Linked DNA regions of Homo sapiens: all the other regions are linked to region 2. Evidence: promoter capture Hi-C in human tissues and cell types (Jung and others, 2019). All regions are on one chromosome and are shown on one strand. Each heading gives the region's core, a stretch centred on a gene start or on the middle of the fragment in contact. The rest is flanking DNA. Distances are from core to core; before and after follow the strand shown. Region 1 overlaps GDE1 (glycerophosphodiester phosphodiesterase 1). Region 2 holds the start of TMC7 (transmembrane channel like 7). Region 3 overlaps CCP110 (centriolar coiled-coil protein 110).

Region 1 (4,703 bases), core at 73-2,572, 530 kb before region 2:
TTTCACATCTTTATTGTGATGAGGAAGCCAAGGAAGCAAACATTAAATAGTGTGTCTCCAGAGGAGCATGGCTCGTGTAATTTAAGGTTCAAATTCTCTTTTTAGATAAATTCTAATCTACCTCATCAAGCTTAACAACTTATGGGCCAACAGCCAGTGCTGCTTACATAAACAAAATGTGATATGTCCTAGAAGCAGGCGTGGTGTCTTTGTGGTAGAGGGTGGAATTAAACCAACAAAAACCTGACTCATTTATGCCAAAGTAGTGAAATATCTGACTAATCAACAACCGTAGGGTGATCATCAGAACTGCTGTACCAACAAATAGTGTAGGTAAACAGTGGAATTGTCTAAGTATTCATAAGCCATTGATGACCCATATAGTTAAACATCCAGAGAAAACATAAGTTCCTGAAGTCTCCTAGTCTTCCACTGTGAAAGTAAGAAGAGTGGGAAAATTAAAGTTTTTAAGGAATCCATCAGTTAGGAATTGAAGTAAGGTTATATACACAGAAAACAGAAACAGATCAGGATTGCTGTTTGGTGGGGGAAGTGGAAGGAAAATGAATCAAAAAGGACAGCTGTCTTAGGAGCCCTGCTGGTCTTTTGGGTGGTTAGATGCAAAATAATGTTTGTGGCCATTTGACAGTAATATTCTTGATGTTTTTGTTAAGGCAGCTAAGAATGGAGCAACAGGCGTGGAGTTGGACATTGAGTTTACTTCTGACGGGATTCCTGTCTTAATGCACGATAACACAGTAGATAGGACGACTGATGGGACTGGGCGATTGTGTGATTTGACATTTGAACAAATTAGGAAGCTGAATCCTGCAGCAAACCACAGACTCAGGTAAGTAGTTTATTGTCACTTAAACAGATCTTTTAGCTTTTATTGGAAATGACAGACACTGGTGCCTTCTAATTACATCTGCCCCAGGAGAGTTGTCTTGTTTTGTTTTGAACTGTACGTAGGTCTTGTAAGTAATGAGCAAGTGCCAGGAACAACAGAAATTTGGCATTATGTTTTTAATCTTTCCCACTGAGGCTAAATTTGGCTTCAGAATTATTGTCAAGATAATACTGTCTAGTCATAGAATCATGAGGCTGAAAGTCATTGCTTGGCAATCTTCTTGCCTTCAGGTGTACCAAGAAGCAAATTATACATTCATTAAAAGCTTCAAGTAACATTATAATATCACATTTTAACTTAACCCATTTAATTCTTCTGATCCTCATAACAAACTTCTGAGGAATCACAGAATTGTAGGAATAGAGAGTATCCTAGAAATCATCTAGAATAGCACTTTGCAGTAGAACTTTCTGCAATGATGGAAATATTTTATATCTGCACTGTGTAATATGGTAGGTACTTGTGGCTATTGAGCACTTGATATGTGGCTAGTGACACGAGGAAGTGAATTTTTAATTTAAATGTAAATTTAAACTGAAATAGCCATGTGTGGCTACCATATAGGATACTACAGATCTAGATCAATCTTGCCTTTAGATATAATCCCAGAAAAGTTAAATTATTTACTCAAGGGCAAATAACTAGTTCATAAAGAAGCCAAAACTAGAATCTATCCCAAGTTTTAGTCCAAATCATGCTGTTTTTAGCTGCCCCCAATGTCTTTCAACCCTGTAAGAGCAAAAGTTCTTTCAGTGTCTAATTTAATTCCTTCCTGGTAGAGTGTAAACGTAGCTTCCAAAGTATATACACTAGAGCTAATCTTACAAGATGTTCTGCAAAAACAGGGTTCAAGTAAGATCAAACAGTGTATTCTGAATACTTCTGTTGTGGATAAACAGTCCACATCAGCTGATTCTTACTTGTAACTTAGCTTTTCTCAAACTTACATGATCACAGAACCTACATCCTCTTCCCCACTTACAGCGGTAAACACCCTTGGAATTGGTATGCTGAGTAATATACTGTACTTTGGAATGTGGTTATTTAAATCCCTCTCTGCTTGTCATCTTTGCAGTACTGAAAAGGGTGTGCTCACTGGTTATTCATGTAATATCAATTATCCAGACAATGATCGATTCTCTTGGAAAATTAAGTATTTGACCCAACAGTTAAGTTATACTTTTTCCTAAAAGATGATCCAGACCTGTTTTCCTAGGATCTGAAAAACATTAGTCTGCCGAAGGAAGTCATACTGTAGGCAGGAAAGAATATTGGTAACACTTGAGAATTATGAGTCCAAGTTGCTAGAATTGTTCTTGAGTGTCATCAGATACTGTATTGCTCTGCTTATGCAAGGGAAAGGCTGGTTTGAATATTATAATGACATTGCAGCTAATAAAATGTCAGGTTCAAAGTTAATACTTAAAGCAAAAATGTTTAGGGTCATCATTACCCTTAAAAATCCTTTAAGGGAGCACTGAGTCCATTTCTCTGGAATTTGTGCATCCTAGGAAAAAAAATTGTGATTTTCAAAAAATCCCTTAAGAAGACAGCAAAGGCAACATATTATCTCAGTGTCTTTAACACAACCAGTCTTTGCTCCACTATTGGAACAGAGTGTGTTCTATGATTGAAAACTAAATGAAGTAATTGGCTTGTGTTTACGGATTATGTTGTGGGAAAAAATAGATATTTTCTCTAGAATTATGCTCAGTGTGATGAGATGCTTGTCCTGAGAGGAGGATAAGGAGGAAACTAAGATCAGCCAAAGGAATAACAAATTCAGGTCTCCCATCTTTCACTCTCAGGGAATAGAAATTGATTAGAATGGCTGGGATAATTGCCTGTAATGTTTAAATTATCCTTATCTTTTTTTTTTTTTTTTTTGAGTTGGAGTTTCACTCTTGTTGCCCAGTTTGGAGTGCAATGGCATGATCTTGGCTCACTGCAACCTCCACCTCCCGGGTTCAAGTGATTCTCCTGCCTCAGCCTCCAGAATGCTGGGATTACAGGCACATGCCACCACACCCAGCTAATTTTTGCATTTTTAGTAGAAACGGGGTTTCGCCATGTTGGCCAGGCTGGTCTCGAACTCCTGACCTCAGGTGATCTGCCTGCCTCAGCTTCCCAAAGTGCTGAATTTACAGGCATGAGCCCACTGTACCTGGCCTATCCTTACCCTTTTTTAAAAGCATGATCTTACAGTTGAAATAATGCAGTTGAATTAGCATTAAGTTAAATAATAATTTTATTATGAGAGAAAAGCTAATTTCTTTTGTATCAAGCACTTAGTTTTCATTTTCTTTATCAGAAAATTATGTCTTAGAACATTATTTATTTTAAACAGTTGCACTTAAATAAATACACAATACAGTTAACAGATTTATGTATTCCTAAGAATTCCTCCTGCATAGCATTCTATTAGGGAAATTACAATCTGAAAATTAAGTCTTTGAGTTTTCCAAAGGTGGCATATACTCTGCCCTTTGGGAAGTAGGGTTATTAATAATGTTATTAATTCAATAGAAATTCAGTGATTTCTTAAAAATTAAATGATTTTTGTTGTTGTTGCTGGTCTTTGGTCAAGAATATCTGTATTTGAACACATGGAGGTTCCTGAATGATGGAGCACTCAGAAAGGGCATGGAAGCTCTATGCCCCTTTCCCCATACCTCACCCTATGCATGTCTTCATCTGTATGCTGTGTAACATACTTTATAATAAACCTGTAAACGTGTTTGAGTTCCGCAAGCCACTCTAACAAATTAATTGAACCCAAGGAGGAGGAGGTGGGAACCCCAATTTATAGCTAGTGTCAGAAGCACAGAATTACCAGAAAAGGAAAACAAATCAAAACAAAACAAAACAAAAAACAGAAAAATAACATCCATTATACAATATAAGAAACCAAAGACCATCAATCTCTAATCTCTGTGCTCAGGTGTCTGTGTGCTTCAATTCTTCTCATCTACGAGTCTTGGGTTTTCAATGCTCACTTGTCACCAGGATATGAATTAAAAATGTCTTGGGCACCACCATGTGGTCCAGTTGTCTTAACCTTTCTAAAAGTGCTTGTGCAAACCATTTACTTGTTGCTTCTTACACAATTACAGCCCAACCTACTTGTGTTTAAAAGCAACCACAGCATGTTTGAAAGTCTTATGCAATAAAAGGGAAGTTTATGATTACATTTAGTCTGTACTTACTGGATACTTTCAGTTTTATCAGTTCCAAGTACAGCAAACTCTGGATAATATGGTTAATTACTTCCTCCATGATTCTTTCGACCTTCATATCAATTTTGCTAAATATGGAATGATTGACTAGCCAGAGCAATCAGGAAAGAGAAAGAAATAAAAGGCATCCAAATTGGAAAAAGAGGAAGTCAGATTGTACCTCTTTGCTGACAACATGATTTTGTATGTAGAAAAACCTAAAGACTTCACCAAAAAACTGTTAAAACTGATAAACAAATTTAGTAAAATTGCAGGATATAAAATCAACGTACAAAAATCAGTAGCATGTCTATACGTAAATAATGAACTAGCTGTAAAAGAAATCAAGAAAGTAATCCCATTTACATAGCTACCAAAAAAAAAATAACAAAATACCTAGGAATAAATATAACCAAAGAGGTGAAAGAGCTCTTACAAGGAAAACTACAAAACACTGATGAGAAAACTTAAGAGGACACAAATGGAAAGACATCCCATGCTCATGGATCAGAAGAATTAATATTCCTAAAGTGACCATTCTACTCAAAATAATTTACAATTCAGTGCAATCCCTATCA
Region 2 (4,447 bases), core at 1,316-3,815:
CTGTAACCTCTGCCTCCCAGGTTCAAGCGATTCTCCTGCCTCAGGCTCCCCAGTAGCTGGGATTACAGGCACATGCCGCCATACCCATCTTTTTTTTTTTTTTTTTTTCAGACAGAGTCTCTGTCACCCAGGCTGGAGTGCAGTGGCACAATCTCGGCTCACTGCAACCTCCACCTCCCGGGTTCAAGCGATTCTCCTGCCTCAGCCTCCCGAGTAGCTGGGACTACAGGTGCATGCCACCACACCTGGCTAATTTTTTGTGTTTTTAGTAGAGACAGGATTTCACCACGTTAGCCAGGATGGTCTCGATTTCCTGACCTCGTGATCTGCCCACCACGGCCTCCCAAAGTGCTGGGATTACAGGTGTGAGCCACTGTGCCTGGCCAGCCACCGGAAAGTTTTATGTAAGCAGGGGAGTGATCTGTTTTATCATTTAGAAGGATACATACCTCTTCTTTTTTTTTTAGAGACAGGGTCTAGTTCTGTCACCCAGGCTGGAGCCCAGTGTCATAATCATAGCTTACTGTAACCTCAAACTCCTGGGCTCAAGTGATCCTCCTGCCTCAGCATCCCAAAGTGCTGGATTACAGGCATGAGTCACCATGCCTGGTCACACTTCTCATTCTTTAAACCAGACCTCATTTGTCGCCTCCCCCATCCCCCGCCCCACCCCACGGACTGTCCTATAATGCCCATACAACAGGTCACTGTTTAGAAAGTGCTACAAAGTTACAAACACAGTCCCTTCTGAGCCTCCCACCAATGTTGGTGGGTACAAGATCAAAAAAAAAAAAAAAAAACTCATCTATCTAAGGGGCATAGAAGACTTTTTAGTTAGAGGGCCCAATTATAGTCCTCCTGAAAAGATGCCAAAAGTCCCCTCATACACTTAGCAAAGATGCAAGAAAGATGAATCTCACATTCTTTGTATGGGAAATGAGGAACTTGACATCTTCAATATAATGGATTCCACTAAAATAAGATGACTATTAATAGGAACCAACTAAAAAAATACTTGACTAGCTGTTATTGAAAGGCTGAAATTCAGCTGACATAAGCAGTATTAATATTGAGCTAGAAAATAATTCGCATTGAATCCACCCCAACTTTTGTTTTCTGATTTGGGTCTCTTCTAAATTTTTTTTTTCTTCTGGACATTGGGAACAATCCAATTTGAAGGCCTCAATGACCAAATCTACACTCATGTTTTATTCTATATCCTTGGTTTCTTTTTTTTTTTTTGAAACAGTCTTGGTCTGTCGCCCAGGCTGGAGTGCAGTGGCGCAATCTCGGCTCACTGCAACCTCCGCCTCCCGGGTTCAAGCTATTCTCTGCCTCAGCCTCCCAAGTAGCTGGGATTACAAGCACCCACCACCACTCCTGGCTAATTTTTGTATCTTCAGTAGAGATGGGGTTTCACCATCTTGGCCAGGCTGGTCTTGAACTCCTGACCTCGTGATCCACCCGCCTCAGCCTCCCAAAGTGCTGGGATTACAGGCGTGAGCCACCACGCCCGGCCCTACATCCTTGGTTTCAGTAAATCTCTATTCTAAAACTGAAAAAGAGAAAACATTGCAGATAAAACTTTACAGCAGGGTCTTGTGTTTTGTTCAGGACAAGATTCGTAAGCTCCAAATGCTACAAGGAACCCTGCCTGAGTGCTGGCAACTTTTTTATCCTGACTGGGCAGCCGTTGTACATATTTCTGTAGAAATTCATGGAGCTGTATACTTTACTGTAATTCTACCCGATACAAAAGATTATAATACTTGGCTGGCTACCATTTATTGTGACTGTCTAGCCACAATGCCAGGCACTGTGCTAGACACATCACACGATTCTCAGCTAATCCCCGCCCCATTCTATTCCCATTTTACTGCTGAAGGATCTGAGGCTCAGAGAAGGCAAGCCACTTACCAAAGGTCCCACAGCAATAAACAGACAAGGCAGAATTCGGTTTCAAGTTGGTCTAACTGTATGTGAAGGCTGAAATGTCCGGGAGGCAGGCACCTCATACCAGAATGTTAGGCGTGGAGGGGGTGCTCAAATCCTTTCATTTAACAGCAGATGAGGCTATTGAAAGACTGTCTCGGTCAACAGCTGGAAGACAAACCCACCACGGTCCAGACTGCAGTTCTCGTGTCCTTTTGGCCCGGCTGGGTTCCACTGGATTGGATGAGGACGCGTTTGTGGAGGGAGCAGGAATAAGGAAGATCTCCTTCCCACCTGCTGTTCCCCAGAGCCGGGAGCACCCGGCGTCGGGGGTGGGAGGGAACAGCGGCCAGGCCGAGCCTCCAGCACCCGGCTCCCTCCGTGCGCCCTCGGACCCCAGGGGCACCGTCCCCGCGCGCGCTCCCTGCCGCCCTACCTGGATGGACCGCCGGCTGCCGGCTGGGCCTGCCGGGCTGGAGCGCACTGCCGCTGGACTCGCTCATGGCCGCGCCCCGCGCTCCTCAGAGGCTGCCGAGGACCCTCTCCAGCCGCCGCCGCCGCCGCCGCCTCCCCGGCCTTCCCTCGCGGAGCCGGGATTCCAGGTTCCGGCGCTGACATCACAGAAGCCGGAGTGGGGCGCCCCCGCGAGGAGCCGAGCATCAGGGACCGCAGAGGGGCTGCAGAGCCCGGGAGATCCGGCAAGGCTCCATCCAGCGGTGGCGACAAGCAGCGACCTCCCTGATGTCTCACTGAGCTTAAAAAATAACAATAGATTGGGCGCACTGGGAGCCCAGTCTCCACCAGGACCCGGTACACCCATGTAACAAACATGCACATGGACCCCCTGCATCTAAAATCAAACCTGATCTAATAAAGAAATAAATAACAAAAATAACTGGTTGGGAGTGGTGGCTCACGTCTGTAATCCTCGCATTTTGGGAGTCCGAGGCTGGAGGACCGCACGAACTCACAAGTTTGAGACCAACCTGGCCAACACAGTGAGACCCCCATCTTTAAAATTAAAAAATAAAAAGTCCACACGCAAAAAACCCCAAGACTCCAAATCAGTGCATCTAGTAAGTTACCATTTGGGAACAAAAAGGAAACCAAAAAATATATTTGTACATGCTTGTAAATGCCTAAGCTATCTCCCTAGAGGGTGCAAAAAACTGGCTACCTGTGGTAGCTCTGGGTGGGGAGCTAGAGGGCCGAGTGAAGAGAAAACCACGTGCAGTGTTTGTCTTTTACGTTTTGCACTATATCCTCGTTTCATCTCTACCTCTGTTCGTGTGCAGGTTAAAAACATAAAATTGCCAGGCGCAGTGGCTCACACCTGTAATCTCACCACTTTGAGAGGCCGAGGCGGGAGGATCACCTGAGGTCAGGAGTTCGAGACTATCCTGGCCAACACGGTGAAACCCTGTCTCTACTAAAAATACAAAATTAGCCTGGCATGGTAGTGCATGCCTGTAGTCCCAGCTACCAGGGAGGCTGAGGCAGGAGAATCGCTGGAACCCAGGAGGCAGAGGTTGCAGTGAGCCGAGATCACGCCACTGCACTCCAGCCTGGGCGACAGAAGGAGACTCCATCTCAGAAAAAAAAAGAAAAAGAAAAGTAATTGCTAAATATAAATAAATGGGGAAAATGGAGAGAAATCTCCTGTGCAGATTTTGAAATCATTTACGTAGATACTTTAAGGATGGGGAGCTTAGCTCCCTACTCCTTAAGTGTGAGTTGCCCATAGCGACATCCTTCCAAAAGAGTGCAGTATGGAAGTGGTGGTGGAAGAGGGTGAGGGTGGGTTTTATATTAGATAATACCTGACAAACACTGTCTCAGACAGATGATCAAAGTTAACATCATCCGGGATCAGTGGCTCACACCTGTAATCCCAGCACTTTGGGAGGCCGAGGCAGGTGGATCACTTGAGGTCAGGAGTTCGAGACCAGCCTGGCCAACATGGCGAAACCCTGTCTCTACCAAAAATACAAAAAAATTAGCTGGGCATGGTGGCGGGCGCCTGTAATCCCAGCTACTAGGGAGGCTGAGGCAGGAGAATCTCTTGAACCCAGGAGGCGGAGGTTGCAGTGAGTCGAGATTGCACTACTGCACTCCAGCCTGGGCAACAGAGTAAGACTCCATCTCAAAAAAAAAAAGTAAATAAGTAAATAAGTTAACATCAACATTAAGCCATGAGGATGGTGTGCACCCTTCCTACGATGGGATGAGAAGGGCACTTTACCTCTGTGGTCATAAGAAAAATATCAGACAAATTCAACTGAGGGGCATTCTACAGAATACCTGATTAGTATTCCTCAAAACTGTCAAGGTCATTTAAAAAAAAAAAAAAAGGAGGCTGGAGACTGGGTGTGGTGGCTCATGCCTGTAATCCCAGCACTTTGGGAGGCCAAGGCAGGTGGATCGCAAGGTCAGGAGTTCGAGACCAGCCTGGCCAAGATGGTGAAACCCTGTCTCTACTAAAAAAAATACAAAAAATTAGCTGTGTATGGTGGTG
Region 3 (4,345 bases), core at 813-3,312, 550 kb before region 2:
TCTGTTGATACTACCTCTCAGACTGCGTCTAGATTGTTCTCTTTCTATATATTCCTTTGACTTTTTCATCAGATTCTGAAGACTCATTACATAGGGATCTGGGATGACTTCTGCCAAAAGTGGTAGATCCTGTTGTTCATTTACTGAGAAGGGACCATCAGAAATAAGAGTTTCTTGTGGGGTTGCTGAAGAGGTCTTTGGAAAAGCTTCATTTTCTACATGACTAATATTGGAACTATCACATTGCTTCGGAGAATTAAATCCTTCTGAATCTCTAGCTAAGTCTATTCCATCAGTTTTACATTGGTCCTCATTATCCAATGGCAAAATCCCAGCTATCTTATCAAGCTTTGCTGCAGTAGAGTGTTCCGTATGGCTTGGAAAGCTATTTGGAAATGTAGCAGGAACATTCAAGTTTCTGACTTCTGAATTAGAGTAAACTGTTTCCATCTCCCACTGATCAAAATCACTGGCATTAGGTGCTTTTCTAACCTGAAACAGGAAATTTAAAAATTAATATTTCCTCATTGCACAAAAAGTCTCTGATTTCACTGTTTTCTAAAATAAAATTGAAATTGAAAATTCAGAATTCTGACATTTCAAAACATAAAGAAAAACTAAGATGACAGGTTTCTACGGTATCCTGTATCACAGGGGGCTCAAATTATTATTGAAAAGATGCCTACTGGTCATCCTGCCTAAGTTATTAAAAGAGTTATAAAAGAGTTATAAAAAGAAACATCTAATCTGATACAAATATGAACATATATATGTGTATACACACACACATATATTCATATATCCATGTGCAATTTAATCTTAGAATACAAGCACTTAAATTTCTTCTAGTCATATGTTATTAACATTACCAACTGTTCCTCCTAGGATAGCTATCATCCAAGGATAATAATATATGCAATAAACAGCAAGTAATGAAATGTCTTACGTAAACGATTCCCTCTCTAACAAAGACTAACTTGTCCAGGACATTGATTAAGCAAAAATGATTCAGTAATAAGACTCCTGCACCTACATGCTTACTCCAAAGTTTAACTAAACTTTGTCTCAAAAATGAATGAATGAATGAATGAATGAATGTAAAAATAGATATTTTGTATCTAAATAATCCAACTTTGCAAAAGAATAAAAAGAGAACTAGGATAGTTTCTAAAGGTAATTATACATCCGTATATTAAACTGGCAAAAATCATTGTATTATCATATGAATACAGACATCAAAAGCCTGACTACTGGCGGGGCATGGTGGCTCACGCCTGTAATCCCAGCACTTTGGGAGGCCGAGGCGGGCGGATCATGAGGTCAGGAGATCAAGATCATCCTGGCTAACACAGTGAAACTCCATCTCTACTAAAAATACAAAAAATTAGCTGGGCTTGGTGGTGGGCACCTGTAGTCCCAGCTACTCAGGAGGCTGAAGCAAGAGAATGGCATGAATCTGGGAGGCGGAGCTTGCAGTGAGCCAAGATCACGTCACTGCACTCCGGCCTGGGCGACAGAGCGCGACTCCATCTCAGAAAAAAAAAAAAAAAAAAAAAAAAGTCTGAATATTACAATATTTTTTGGTTGTTTTGAATGTGCTTGTTTTTTTCTAGACCACATGGCTCTCCTATTTTACGTTACAAATCCCAAGACAGGTAATGGTTTCCAGGTACTATGCAATACACAGTACAATAAGACATACTTAGTCACAACCTCAGAACCAAAATAAAACAAAAAAGATGCAAAAAGGTTTCCAGGTACTATGCAATCAACAGTACAAGAGTACAAGACATACTTAGTCACAGCCTCAGGACCAAAATAAAACAAAAAGGATGCATATTTATGAAATCCATGAACATGTTCACAGGTTTAAGTAAAACAGATGATTTCCTTACGTAAAATATTTCACATTTGTGATATTCGGAAGCTATGTTGTTTATACGTCACTAAAATGAGCCTTTAGTTAGACAAGTTAAATAACAACAAGAAAAAAATCTATCATAGAATCTTAGGTTTTACAGGTGAAGCAGAAATCTAATTGTATTATATAAAATTTTCCTATCTGAATAATTAATTCATTACAGTTCAACATTATACATGCTCTTTTAACAATTTTATTAGTAGTATATTTTATCTTCCCTCAATGGACCAAGAATGATATGCCATTTTCATTTCAATCACAGGAAATACGTAGTAAGTAAAAAACCTACCTCTTATTGTTAAATTAGTGCTACTCAATACATTTTTTAAACTTAATATGGACAGTAATTATAATCTGCAAAATGAAATCTACTACCCACACACTATATACTACTGTGAAAGGGAAATAATATCTCAGGACCCCAAACTCAACTATGTCACATGAGAGTCACTATGACTCTCATTAACAATTCTCTTAATACTACCTCTCAGCCTGCGTCTAGATTGTTCTCTTTCTATATATTCCTTTGACTTTTTCATCAGATTCTGAAGACTCATTACATAGGGATTTCGAGTAACTGAAATGGAAAATCACATGTCAAAGGAAAAAGTAAAGCTTAGGAACTGAGTCACACAAAAACTGCCTTCCTTTTATTCCTAAACAGATAGCTGCAAAATAGAAGGCCACCTATCTACCCAGGTAGACTCTCTTGCAAATTGCTCACAAGGAAATTCCTCGTAGGCCCCAAAATCTTTACACCAACCCAGAGTTCTGCTGAATTTCACTCTGACAAGATACGGACAAAGACCAAAGATGACTAGAAATCATCCCTTTGGAGACAAATGTATATTTGACTTCTTCCTCTACTCTGCTTACTTTATCCTATGTAAAATGCAGATTTATTGAGCTTGAGATGAATGCATAACTGACTGTTCCTCTACCCCCACCTTTCTCATGCGACTTGTGGATTCAGTGAGTGCTAATCAAAGCCTCACAAAAATGTGATCGCTTATCTCATTACCTACCCTCCTTTTTTTTTCTTTCCTCTTTCCCCTCCTGCTGTTCTCTCCCCTTTATACACTGAAGTCCTCAAAACCTCTTCTGGAAAAGCATAAGCCACAGATTCTACTGTAACTTTTGTCTCTTTTTCCTTGGCACATCCTCAACCTTGGCAAAACAAACCTCTAAATCGATTGAGACTTGCCTCAGTCATTTTCTTCAGTTTACACTACCAACAGAGAAATGAACCCTTAAGGTTCATTATACACGTGTCATCGATACGAATTAAACAGACAAACCACAAACTCCTAAGATTATGAAAAAACAAAAAGATGTTACCAGCAGAACACTGCTATATGTTGTAGAAATTATTCGTTCAATCTAATTCATTTGTTTTTCTTTTTAGTACAAAATGATCCACATGTCAGAACAAATTGTTTATACAAATCTAAAAATAACTGCACAAGGTGTAGATGTGTTGTTTAAATAGTTTTTAGACATAGGATGCATCTAAACAATTCAATGTTATCTAAACTGCATTTTGTGTATCTAAGAGTTTTCACCAAAAAAAAATTGGAGGCAGTTATTTACTTAAGCAAAGAATGAGAATAAGGTCATTTAGTCAATAGTCTAATTAGTTTGGGGTAAACAATAATACCCAATTCTGTCATTTTGTCACTGAGAATTCAATGTTTTTAGAGTCATAAGATGCAAACAATAAGCAATTATATTCAGTGTATGGTTCTATTGTGTAAATATCCTCTGATTCAAGTACTGGGCATTACTAACAAGCAAGTACATTCTCTTTGGAGTAACTGAAATGGAAAATCACAAATTATGAAGCTTCTCAAACGTAACAGTAAAGTACATTAGTAATTAGTTAAGTGCAAATATATTTCAGAAAAATTATCATCAACGCTTATCTTATGATTTCTTTATTATAACTGAAACAGCTAAAATCACACACCTGAACATTGTCAAGAATCTCCTGGACACGAGTCAGTAAAGCTTTCTTCCTGTTAACCTGCTTTCTTGCTTCTACATCAAGTGCTTTCTGCTTTTCTTGTTGCATTTCCTTTCTTTTCTCAATGTTAAGCTGCAAAACATCATAAAAATGTAATTATTTCCCACGATAAAAATATCATAAAATCGGGAAGTTGTGAATCAGAAAGATTAAAAACATGTGCAACAGGCAAAACTAATGTATAGTGAAAGAAATCAGAACAATGGTCTGGGTACTGAGTGGGATGGGGCATTAGAGATCTTTCCATGGTGAAGAAAATCCTGTGTGGGTGTGAGTTATACATGTGTATGCCATATATCAAAACTCATGGAACTTTAACACTTAAGATTTGTGCATTTTGCTATGTGTAAATTATTTTCAGTTAAAAGGTTAAAAAGAAAAAAGTTTGTTCACTAATCAAA

Evidence for each region. Contacts are between HindIII fragments. The study calls those that stand out against the background at their distance.
Region 1: a contact is called between a fragment that was not itself captured here and the fragment with the promoter of TMC7 in region 2, in 1 of the 25 tissues and cell types used here (dorsolateral prefrontal cortex).
Region 3: a fragment that was not itself captured here is called in contact with the fragment with the promoter of TMC7 in region 2 in 2 of the 25 tissues and cell types used here (dorsolateral prefrontal cortex and hippocampus).

The regions. Positions count from the first base shown.
Region 1 is chr16:19,513,161-19,517,863 of GRCh38, reverse strand. GDE1 (glycerophosphodiester phosphodiesterase 1) reads left to right here. Exons shown (of 6, transcript NM_016641.4): 2 at 675-850. Among named protein-coding and RNA genes, the nearest start is that of GDE1, 6.6 kb to the left of the region's middle. The HindIII fragment of the contact is 3,843 bases long and covers 1-3,243 here.
Region 2 is chr16:18,982,052-18,986,498 of GRCh38, reverse strand. TMC7 (transmembrane channel like 7) reads right to left here and starts at 2,565. Exons shown (of 16, transcript NM_024847.4): 1 at 2,369-2,565. The coding sequence starts at 2,435. RefSeq lists a silencer at 2,595-2,654. The HindIII fragment of the contact is 36,131 bases long and covers 1-4,447 here.
Region 3 is chr16:19,532,087-19,536,431 of GRCh38, reverse strand. CCP110 (centriolar coiled-coil protein 110) reads right to left here. Exons shown (of 14, transcript NM_001323572.2): 3 at 3,888-4,016; 4 at 1-492. Among named protein-coding and RNA genes, the nearest start is that of CCP110, 10 kb to the right of the region's middle. The HindIII fragment of the contact is 3,569 bases long and covers 278-3,846 here.